Linked DNA regions of Homo sapiens: regions 1 and 2 are each linked to region 3. The links are contacts of gene promoters, found by promoter capture Hi-C in human tissues and cell types (Jung and others, 2019). All regions are on one chromosome and are shown on one strand. Each heading gives the region's core, a stretch centred on a gene start or on the middle of the fragment in contact. The rest is flanking DNA. Distances are from core to core; before and after follow the strand shown. Region 1 overlaps DNAJC5 (DnaJ heat shock protein family (Hsp40) member C5). Region 2 holds the start of NKAIN4 (sodium/potassium transporting ATPase interacting 4). Region 3 holds the start of PPDPF (pancreatic progenitor cell differentiation and proliferation factor).

What was found. The method cuts DNA at HindIII sites, captures the fragments that hold promoters and counts their contacts. A contact is called where the count stands out against the background at its distance.
Region 1: a contact is called between a fragment that was not itself captured here and the fragment with the promoter of PPDPF in region 3, in 1 of the 25 tissues and cell types used here (dorsolateral prefrontal cortex).
Region 2: a contact is called between a fragment that was not itself captured here and the fragment with the promoter of PPDPF in region 3, in 1 of the 25 tissues and cell types used here (mesenchymal stem cells).

The regions. Positions count from the first base shown.
Region 1 is chr20:63,904,074-63,907,504 of GRCh38, forward strand. The region is part of intron 1 of DNAJC5 (DnaJ heat shock protein family (Hsp40) member C5); the gene reads left to right. Among named protein-coding and RNA genes, the nearest start is that of DNAJC5, 11 kb to the left of the region's middle. The HindIII fragment of the contact is 9,611 bases long and covers 1-3,431 here.
Region 2 is chr20:63,252,574-63,255,919 of GRCh38, forward strand. NKAIN4 (sodium/potassium transporting ATPase interacting 4) reads right to left here and starts at 1,890. Exons shown (of 7, transcript NM_152864.4): 1 at 1,824-1,890. The coding sequence starts at 1,877. It overlaps FLJ16779 (a long non-coding RNA gene), which reads left to right and starts at 1,405. Exons shown (of 1, transcript NR_024389.1): 1 at 1,405-3,346. RefSeq lists enhancers at 1-74, 1,146-1,677, 1,678-2,209. The HindIII fragment of the contact is 7,354 bases long and covers 1-3,346 here.
Region 3 is chr20:63,519,270-63,522,463 of GRCh38, forward strand. PPDPF (pancreatic progenitor cell differentiation and proliferation factor) reads left to right here and starts at 1,496. Exons shown (of 4, transcript NM_024299.4): 1 at 1,496-1,625; 2 at 2,015-2,094; 3 at 2,243-2,320; 4 at 2,399-2,937. The coding sequence starts at 2,040. The coding sequence ends at 2,610. It overlaps LOC102723814 (a long non-coding RNA gene), which reads right to left and starts at 1,404. Exons shown (of 2, transcript XR_430332.4): 1 at 1-1,404. RefSeq lists enhancers at 1-629, 630-1,506 and silencers at 779-1,028, 1,089-1,638, 1,749-1,948. The HindIII fragment of the contact is 19,807 bases long and covers 1-3,194 here.

The DNA.
Region 1 (3,431 bases), core at 667-3,166, 390 kb after region 3:
GCAAAACACTCTGAAATGAGGCAAACCGTGGTTTGTTGAACAGGTGTTCTGGGACAAGGTTGCCGAATATGCATTAGCCGTAATCCCCAGGACAGCCATGCAGGGTGGGTCTTAAACAGTTTTTTAGATTCTCGAGTATAAAGGTATAATATTGAAGAATAAGCACAAATAATGTCATCATACATGTTAAAGTGACAACACAGGATTTACAAAATTACCCTTTTTTCCCCAAAATTACCTCTTACGATGTGGTTTCTGTTGGTGCTGTTTTCTCTTGCATCATCCCGCCAGGTTGGGTAACCCTAACTGATTGTCACCAGCAGACCAACAGACAGACTCACAGCATCCTTCTCCCTGGTGTGAGCACTGCTTAATTCACATTTATGAAAATACTTTAAGACAAGGGCACTGTAACTCACATAGAATCTGAAGTGGCCTTGAACAGGGAGCTGGTCCAGCTGCCTCTTAGTGTGTCTGACCTCCAGGTGGGCGGACTGAGATGCGTGCAGGTGTTCATGGTATAGGCATCCTTGTAAACCTGCTCTGGTTAAGGATAAATAGGCAAAGTTGTGCTAATGCTGTTCCTACAGCAGCCTTTGCCCTGGACTGACTCCAGAACAGCTGGCTGACTGACAGCTGCCTCCCAGTAAAGCCTTAAACAGGCTTATCTTATATTTTTAAAAGGCAAAGGACAATAAGGCAGATTAATAAACTGTGGGGGTTTTTTTGTTTGTTTTTGTTTTTCTTGAGACAAAGTCTCGCTGTTGTACCCCAGGCTGGAGTGCAACGGCGCGATCTCGGCTCACTGCAACCTCTGCCTCTCGGGTTCAAGCGATTCTCCTGCCTCAGCCTCCAGAGTAGCTGGGATTACAGGTGCCCGCCACCACGCCCGGCTAATTTTTGTATTTTTAGTCTAGACGGGGGTTTCACCATGTTGGCCAGGCTGGTCTCGAACTCCTGACATCAGGTGATCCGCCTGCCTCGGCCTCCCAAAGTGTCAGGATTATAGGGTGAGCCACCGTGCCTGGCTTTTTTTTTTTTTTCCTGTCTTTTGTGTATGTGATGGGGTCTCGCTCTTGTCGCCCAGGCTGGAGTGCCATGGCACGATCTCGGCTCACTGCAACCTCTGCTTCCCGGGTTCAAGTGACTCTCCTGCCTCAGCCTCCTGAGTAGCTGGAACTGCAGGTGTGCACCACCATGCCCGGCTAATTTTTGTATTTTTACTAGAGATGGGGTTTCACCATGTTGGCCAGGCCGATCTCGACCTCCTGACCTCAAGTGATTGACCCACCTCAGCCTTCCAAAGTACTGGGATTGCAGGTGTGAGCCACCACACCCGGGGCTGGATTTTTTTGTTTTAAGAGACAAGGTCTCACACTCTTGCCCAGGCTGGTTTACAGTGGTGCAGTCACTGCAGCCTTCACCTCTGGGCTCGAGTGATCCTCCCACCTCAGGTTACAGGTGTGAGCCACCACACATGACCGCACATGGCAGATTTTTTTTTTTTTTTTTTCACGGAGTCTGGCTCTTGTCACCCAGGCTGGAGTGCAATGATGTGATCTCAGCTCTCACTGCAACCTCCGCCTCCTGGGTTCAAGCAATTCTCCTGCCTCAGCCTCCCGAGTAGCTGGGATTATAGGGGCGTGCCACCCTGCCCAGCTAATTTTTTTTTTTTTCTGGAGACAAAGTCTTGCTCTGTCACCCAGACTGGAGTGCAATGGCACCATCTTGGCTCACTGCAACCTCCGCCTCCTGGGTTCAAGCGATTCTCCTGCCTCAGCCTCCCGAGTAGCTGGGATTACAGGCACGTGCCACCTCACCTGGCTAATTTTTATATTTTTAGTAGAGACGGGGTTTCACCATGTTGGCCAGGCTGGTCTTGAACTCACTGACCTCAGGTGATCCGCCTCAGCCTCCCAAAGTGCTGGGATTACAGGCGTGAGCCACTATGCCCGGCCCAGGATTTTTTTTTTAATTAAGGAAAATACTTTTTACATCTAAAATTCTACGCGACAATAATTAATGTGTCTTCAAGCTGAGAATTAATTAAAATATAGCCAATAAAACATGTATTAAGCTTTGTAAACTTTGTCTATATATGTACTTATTTTACTTTTATTTAAAAATATGGGGCCAGGCACGGTGGCTCACACCTGTAATCCCACCACTTCGGGAGGCCAAGACGGGTGGATCACTTGGGGTCAGGAGTTTGAGACCAGCCTGGCCAACATGGCGAAACCCCTTCCATCTCTACTAAAAATATGAAAATTAGCCAGGTGTGGTGCAGGCACCTGTAATTCCAGCTACTCAGGAGGCTGAGGCAGGACAATTGCTTAAACCCAGAAGGCGGAGGTTGCAGTGAGCCGACATTGCTCCACTGCACTCCAGCTTGAGCAATAGAAAGACTCTGTCTTAATAAATAAATTAATAGCCGAGCACGCTGGCTCACGCCTGTAATCCCAGCATTTTGGGAGGCCGAGACGGGCAGATCATGAGGTCAGGAGATCGAGACCATCCTGGCTAACACGATGAAACCCCGTCTCTACTAAAAATACAAAAAAAGCCGGGTGTGATGGTGGGCGCCTGTATATAGTCCCAGCTACTCGGGAGGCTGAGGCAGGAGAATGGCGTGAACCTGGGAGGTGGAGCTTGCAGTGAGCCGAGATCGCGCCACTGCACTCCAGCCTGGGTGAGTGATCGAGACTCTGTCTCAAAAAAAATTAATTAATTAATTAAAATATGACAGTGGCCTGGGTGCCATCGCTCGCACCTGTAATCCCAGCACATTGGGAGTCTAAGGTGGGAGGATCACTTGAGCTCAGGAGTTTGCCTAGCCTGGGCAACTTAGGGAGATCCTGCCTCTACAAAAAATAAAAAATTATCCAAGTGTGGTGGTTGCACACCTGTAGTCCCAACTACTTCGGAGGGTTGCAGGAGTCCAGGAGGTCAAGGCTGCCGTGAGGTGTGATTGAGCCACTGCACTCCTACCTGGGTGATATAGTGAGACTCTGTCTCTAAAATAAAATAAAATAAAATAAATGACAGTGGTCCATATAGTACCTTATTCAGAAAAGGCTTGATGTACAAGAAAATAAGTTATTTGTGATCAGGACAGAGAAGAATTACTGCCTTTTGTGAAATGGATGCTGAGAATCAGTTACGATGTACGGTGCTTGGGAGGCTGACTTTGATTTCAGTTACAGCCCTGCTGATCCTTAGCACGGTGACTGCAAATAGGTTACTCCACCTTCCTGAGTCTCAGTCTTCTTAGCCGAAAAGCACAGATCATCATCATAATAGCTAACATTAACTGTGTGCCTGGCATAGGGTCTGACCGCTTTATTCAAGCCAGCTCCCAGACATACCTTGCTGGACTGTTTAATGCCCATTCGACAAAGAGGAGATCGACATGGGGAGGTGTTGAGTAACTT
Region 2 (3,346 bases), core at 448-2,947, 270 kb before region 3:
ACAGTGGGCTGCCAGATTGCCAACCCGGCCAGGACAAAAGGCCTTTGACAGCTCCCTGCTGCGGTTCAGCAGTGACCCAGAGGCTGGCCCTGAGAGGACACGGCTCTGCCCAGTCCCTGGAGAGTCCCCAGGTCTGCTAGTGAAGCCCTGCGGCCCTCAAGCCAGGATGACTCTTTCCCTCTTGGCTGCAACCAAATTTCCAAGGGCCTGCATGTGCGCCCATCTGTCTACTGTCCACCGCAGAGGTGAAACGGGAACATGACCCCACCCGCCCCTCTGCACCCTGAGGTCACATCCGACCAGCACAGTCGTGCCTCACCCTGCACCTGAGACTGAAGCACCCATTTCTCCTGCCCAAACCCCAGCACCATCAACCCCAGCACATCCTCACACCACCTTCAACAGATGGAAACCAATGTCACTAGTGTCCCCCAAAGCAGCCTCACTTCCTGACGCTCATGCATCACCAGCTGCCACTGGCCATGCTCCAAACTGGGGTACCGTCCAGGCTGGTGCCTGTCCTTCATGAGGTCATCCGACGGGCACTGGAGTCTTCGAGTGCCCACCCTTGCTCTCCCCATTCCTGCTTCCAGCCCCTCCCCACCAGTCTCCTAAGGGACTCCTGCCATTGAGGAGCCACTCACTGAAAGATACCAACTGTTCCAAGGCCTGGGATGGTCCTTGGGCCCCCAGCCTGTTGCAGGACCTCAGGTTATCTCCGCGGCCCCAGCGAGCCTCCCAGGAAAGCGCCGGAAGCTCCTTCCTTCCTGCAGGAAGGACACGATGCCTCCGCCGTCCCTAGGTCCGCCCGCAAGCCTGTGCCCCTAAGCCGAGCACAGGACACCCAAGCTGCACAGCCACGGACTCCGAGGGTTTCGCTGCTCAAAACTCTGAAACAGCCCCTTCTGGCCCTTCTAGCTTCAAGAGGAGGAGGGGGGCGCGCGGTCCAGCTGCGCTCCGCAGCCCACAAAGCATCGTTTCCTTTTTAAGACGGGAGACCCAGGGCCAATTAGCATCGAAGCAAAGCAGCTTCCCCAGCCTGGACAGGCGAGGCCTTTGTTTAGCCCCCTCCCCCGAGGGCACCGGGCTCCGGGAAAGAATCCGCCCCCCAGGCGTCCCAGGGAGCTTCGGACTCCGGGGCAGAATGGAAACTTGGCCGAGGGAGCCCCGACCAATCCCGACACCGAAGACGCCCGCGCTGCGCCCCGGGCATCGGCTCCAGCCCCTTCTCGCCTCCGCGTAGCTCCACGCCGGGCGGAATGGGGGGCGGCGGGGGCGGGCGGGGCCGGTTTGCTCGCGGGTGGGCAGGACGTTCTCACCCCCCGCCCCCTACACTCGCAAACTCGCAGGCACAGCCTCCGTCATCGCCCCACCCGAATCTCAGAATCGGAACTTGGCCGCTCACTCGGCGCCCGGGGCCGGCTGCGGGAAACGCTCGCACAGACAGAGACAGGCGCGCACCCGGGGGCGCACCCGGGGCCACACACGCCTCCCCAGGCGATGGGGTCCAGGCGGCCCCGCCCGAAGGCTTCCGTCCGGCCAGCCCATCCAGCCGCTGCCCCGCACCTGTCCCCGCCGCTCCGGACCCGCGGCCGCCCCCCGCGCACGCACACCGGGGACGGGACCCGGCGCCGCGACTCCCCACGCCCCGCAGGCGACGCCACCTTCGGCCGTAGCAGCCCGGGGTCCGAGGCATCCCCCCTCGGAGCTGGCGCGGGACCCAGCGAACGGGCCCCGGGGCGGAGGGACGCTTCGGGACCCCACAGCCGCCGTGGGTCGGGCACCGGGGGCTCCAGGAGGCTCGCGGAGGGGTCGCCACTCACCAGCTGAAAAGCGCAGAGGACGACGAGCGCGCAGCGGCCGGAGCAGGAGCCCATGGTGCCCGCCTATACAGGAGGCCCCCGGGTGCCCCGCGCTCGGCCCCCGCCCCCGCTCCGCCCGCTCCCCACGCGCCGCAGCCTGGACCCCGCCCCCTCCGCATCCCGTTCCCCCCTCCTCCCCGCAACCCCCGGCCCAGCCCCAGCCCCGGGTAACAGCTGCGCTGCGTCTCCCCTCCCACCCCCGCCTGCGGCCCCTGGGGGCTTCGCGCCGGCCGGAGAGGGGGACCGTTCTTAAAGGGGCGATGGCGCGGCCTCTCGGGTAGCGAGGGGCGGCGCCGCGGCCCCAGGACAGACCTGCAGCTGAGGGGAGCCCGCCCTGGACGCGGCAGGGATGACCGGCGTCCGCCCCCTCCTGCAGGATGACCTGCCCAGCACCTGCTCCCGCCGTGCGCCCTCCGGCGTGAGATCCCCATCAACCTTCCCCGTGTGGGGTCTGAGCGACCCGCATCCGCGAGGCGTTTTCTCTGAGAGTCTCAGAGATTCCTTGGCTTGGAGAAGTCCTGGACCCGGGTCCAGAGCTCAGAGGTCCCCTCCACGGGCGGGCGGGCCGAGGACTCAGGAGGAGGGAGTGAGCCGGGCTCGCCCACCTCCCACAGGGAGCTCCTCTGCTGGAAGGCTGAGACCTGAAGGCCAGGTCTGCTCCAACTGCCTGGACCGGCCTCCTGCCTGCGCGGGAGGGGCCTAGGGAGCCTCGGGTTGGGACAGCCTGAGGCCTTGTGCACGGTGGAGGCAGGACCCAGCTGCCCAGGGCAGGTCCTGGGGTCTGGATGGGGCTGAACCCCGTAAAGCCTGCGCTTCCGGAAGAAGCTTGCGCTGGAGGCAGGGAAGGGTCCCAGCCAGGCCCGAGAGGAGCAGGACGTGGATACAGTGAGCCAGAGTGTCAGCCGGTCGGAAAGCCCATGGGGGCAGAACAGCGGGAGATCAGGGCAGGTGGCCGGGCCAGGGCTGCCACTTGGTCTTTACTCAGTGGCAGGGCAGGCTCCCTGACTGCCACCCACCGCCTGAGGAGCCTGAGATGGGTTTCCCATGGCAACCTGAATTCCTGCCCCACTCGAGATTTTATGAATTACTGAGGATTCTTGCCTTCCTAATTTTGGTTGTGTGTCCCACAGTCCCGGGGATCAGGAGGGGTTAACAGAAGACCAAGGGTCAGGTTTTCTGCACTGCGGGGAGCCACCCCAGATCTGTAGTCCAGGCTCATGGGCGGGTGAGGGGGTAGCTTCCAAGCCCCAAAGGTTAGAGAGCAAAGGTGTGGCCAGTTGTGGAGGGAGGGGGAGCGTCAGGTTGTTTGCAGTGCTGGGGAGATAAGAATATTCAGGAATCAGATGGTGGTGATGGTTGCACAGCTCTGTGAATATACTGCAGCCCACTGAGCACTACACTGTAAAGGGGTGACTATTATGGTGTGAGGATTATATCCCGATTTTTAAAAGATGTGAAAAAATTAATGTTTATTTATACGATAT
Region 3 (3,194 bases), core at 246-2,745:
TCAACCCAACTGACCCGTCTGCCTCATCAGTGACCCCTCGGGGCTGCACACCTCTCCCATCGCAGGTCCTGGCACTGCTCTCCGGCACCGAGCTCCCCCTCCCAGGTGGGGCTCAGGCGGTTCCCTGCCCTCCGTCCTTAGACCTCAGCTGAAACCTGAGCTCTCCCCACCACCCGCCCCCGCCAGCCTCTGCACTGCTCCCCACGGGAAGGCCGTTCTCCCTTGGTTTACCGTTCCCTGCGCTTGGCTCGGCCATGTGCACATAGTAGGTGCTTACCACACTCGTGCAATGAACACACAGAGCGGTGCAGGGCCCAGGACAGCGCCTTCCCCACGTGCTCAGGGGGCACAAGGGCGTCCCTCCAAGTCTTGCTCAGGGGCCTCCCAGGGTCCCTGCCCAGCTGTGGGTCCTCACTGAGCACCCGGCGAGGACAGAGTACGGCATCCGTTGGCCTCGATCTCCGGAACAACACGGGCACACGGCCGTCCCAGCCAGCAACGAGAGCCACGAAACAAATCCACCCGGGCTGACTCCCGAAGCCCTCGGACTGTTCCGCCCCACGGACCTCCCGGACCCTCTCTTCCACGGGGAAGACACCGCCCAGCCAGGACCGGGTGTATAAAGAAACGGGATTTCCGTAGGGGCAGGCCGATTTCCCCTGCGGGGCCGAGGGAGGTGTGGGGAGGATTCTGCGCTGGGGGGAGGAGGAGAGGGAGGACGCCTTTCTGCCTGGGAAGGGAAAACGCGCCCCCTCCTGATTGGCATGGCGGGCCGTCCCCCGGGCCCCAGGGCCCTGCCGGGAACGCTCTGGGCTCCCCAAACATGGGGTCTCCGAGCAGTGGGGCCCAGCCTCTGCCTCCGGCGACTGGAGACTCACCTCACCCGCCCAAATCCGCCCCGCTCTCCGACTGGGCCCCGCCTCCCACTGCCCCGCCATCCGCCCACCCTTTCACCGCCCCCTGCGGGCAGCAGGCGCGTCCTGGGGCTGGGCAACCGGGGTGCAGGTTCCGGAGCTGCCAGAGCTGTGAGGGGGACTCGGGAGAGATCCAGGTTCCTCTGGCTGCGAAGTCCCTGGAGGCCGGGCCGGAGGGCTCCGCGCACGTAGCACTTTTTGGCCCGCCCGGCGCCCCCGTCGCCTCCACAAGGGCTGAAGAGGACGGGCGGGCTGGACCAGGCGGGGCTCCGAGACGCGTCCGAGACGGGGGCCTGGGCCCGGGAGAGGGGCGGGGGCTGGGCTCCCGGACCCGGGCGCGGGGCCTTTTAACCCCTGCAGACCCAGGACCGGCCGGGCCGCCCCAAGACGAACGCCGCAGGGCTGGGCTCAGCCCAAGCCAGACGGCGAGAGTCGCACCGAGGTGGAAGCTGGGGGCGCGGCCTCGCCGGGGCCAGGAAAGGGGCGGGGCCGGGTGGGGCCCGGGGAGGAGCCTGTGCGCCCCGCCCTCCGTGACGCGCCGCGGCCCCCGCGCATATAAGTGGGCGCGTCCGCGCGTGCGCACCCCGCGCGCGCCTCTCTGTCGTGGCGCGGCTTCCCGCGGTCTTCTCTGCAAATGGGCTCCGTGGCCTAGCGCCCCCGTCCCCGCCACCCGTGATCGTGCGCCGAGGCCCGCGAGGGGTCGCCGCCCAGGTGAGGGGCGCCGCGCGCGGGTGGGACGAGCAGGCCCGAGGGGCGGGGGGCGAGGGGCGGGGCTGGGCCGGGGGCTCCTCTCCTCTCCGCCTGGCGAGCGCTGGGCTCGGGGTCCCCGGCGGGCTCCTCTCGGGTCGGGCGGGTTGGGACGGCGCCCACCAGGTTCCCGACGTCTGGGCCGGGGCCCCGCGCACAAAGCGCCTTTGTTCCACCCGCTCGGCCGGTTTGGGCTGGTTGGAGCCGCCCGCGCCCCGCGCGGCGAAGGCGGTGCCGGGAGCTGGGGAGCCCCGCCTCGGTAAATAACCCAGCGCGGCGGCTCCACCCGCTGGGGAGCGCCCTTCATGACGGAAGGCCGCTGACCCGAGGGGCTCCTCCACCCCCATGCGCAGATCCCACCAGCCAGCAAGCTAAAGCATGGCGGCCATCCCCTCCAGCGGCTCGCTCGTGGCCACCCACGACTACTACCGGCGTGAGTAGCCCCTGCCCCCCATCCACGCGGATGCTCTGCTGGCGCCAGTGCCGGCCCCGTGCAGGCTGCGGAACCAGCGCTCGGCCTGAAGGCCGGTGGGCTGGGGGGCTCCGCGCCCCGCGTTGCTGACGGGACCTCTCCTCTCCAGGCCGCCTGGGTTCCACTTCCAGCAACAGCTCCTGCAGCAGTACCGAGTGCCCCGGGGAAGCCATTCCCCACCCCCCAGGTGAGTGCAGGATCGCCCCTTTCTCCCCCCGCTCCTCCAGGAGCTGGCAGCATCAAGACCCCACTTCGCTTCTCTCAGGTCTCCCCAAGGCTGACCCGGGTCATTGGTGGGCCAGCTTCTTTTTCGGGAAGTCCACCCTCCCGTTCATGGCCACGGTGTTGGAGTCCGCAGAGCACTCGGAACCTCCCCAGGCCTCCAGCAGCATGACCGCCTGTGGCCTGGCTCGGGACGCCCCGAGGAAGCAGCCCGGCGGTCAGTCCAGCACAGCCAGCGCTGGGCCCCCGTCCTGACCTGAGCGGTTACCACCAGCCCCAGGCCTGCGGAGGCGCTAGTCCACCAGAGCCCCTCCCCGCCCCTCTCCCCACTCCGCATCCCTCGCCCCCCTCCCCACCTCCCACCCCCCACCCTGTAAACTAGGCGGCTGCAGCAAGCAGACCTTCGCATCAACACAGCAGACACCAAAAACCAGTGAGAGCCCCGCTCTCTACCGCCCGGCCCCAGCACTCGCTAGCTTTCCTGACACCTGGAACTGTGCACCTGGCACCAAGCGGAAAATAAACTCCAAGCAGCCAGTAGCCCCGATGGTGTGTGCCTGAGCTGTGTGGCCCGAGGTTCCATTTGAGTGTGAGAAATGGCTGAATCCCTCCCGACCTCACTGCCTTGTGGGGGCTGGCCCTGCTCCCAGGCCTTTCTGGGCCTCCTCACGCTGTGAGGCTGTTGCTGGGGCTGATAAGGGTGGGGTTCACTGCTGCTTCTGGAGAGCCTTGGACAGCAGGCAGTCCTGGAGCTGGACAAGCAGGACCCAGGGCAGCCACTGAGGTGGGCCCCCGTGCCACCTTTAGCGGGGGGAAAGGGAGCAGGGAGGGCTGGTCCT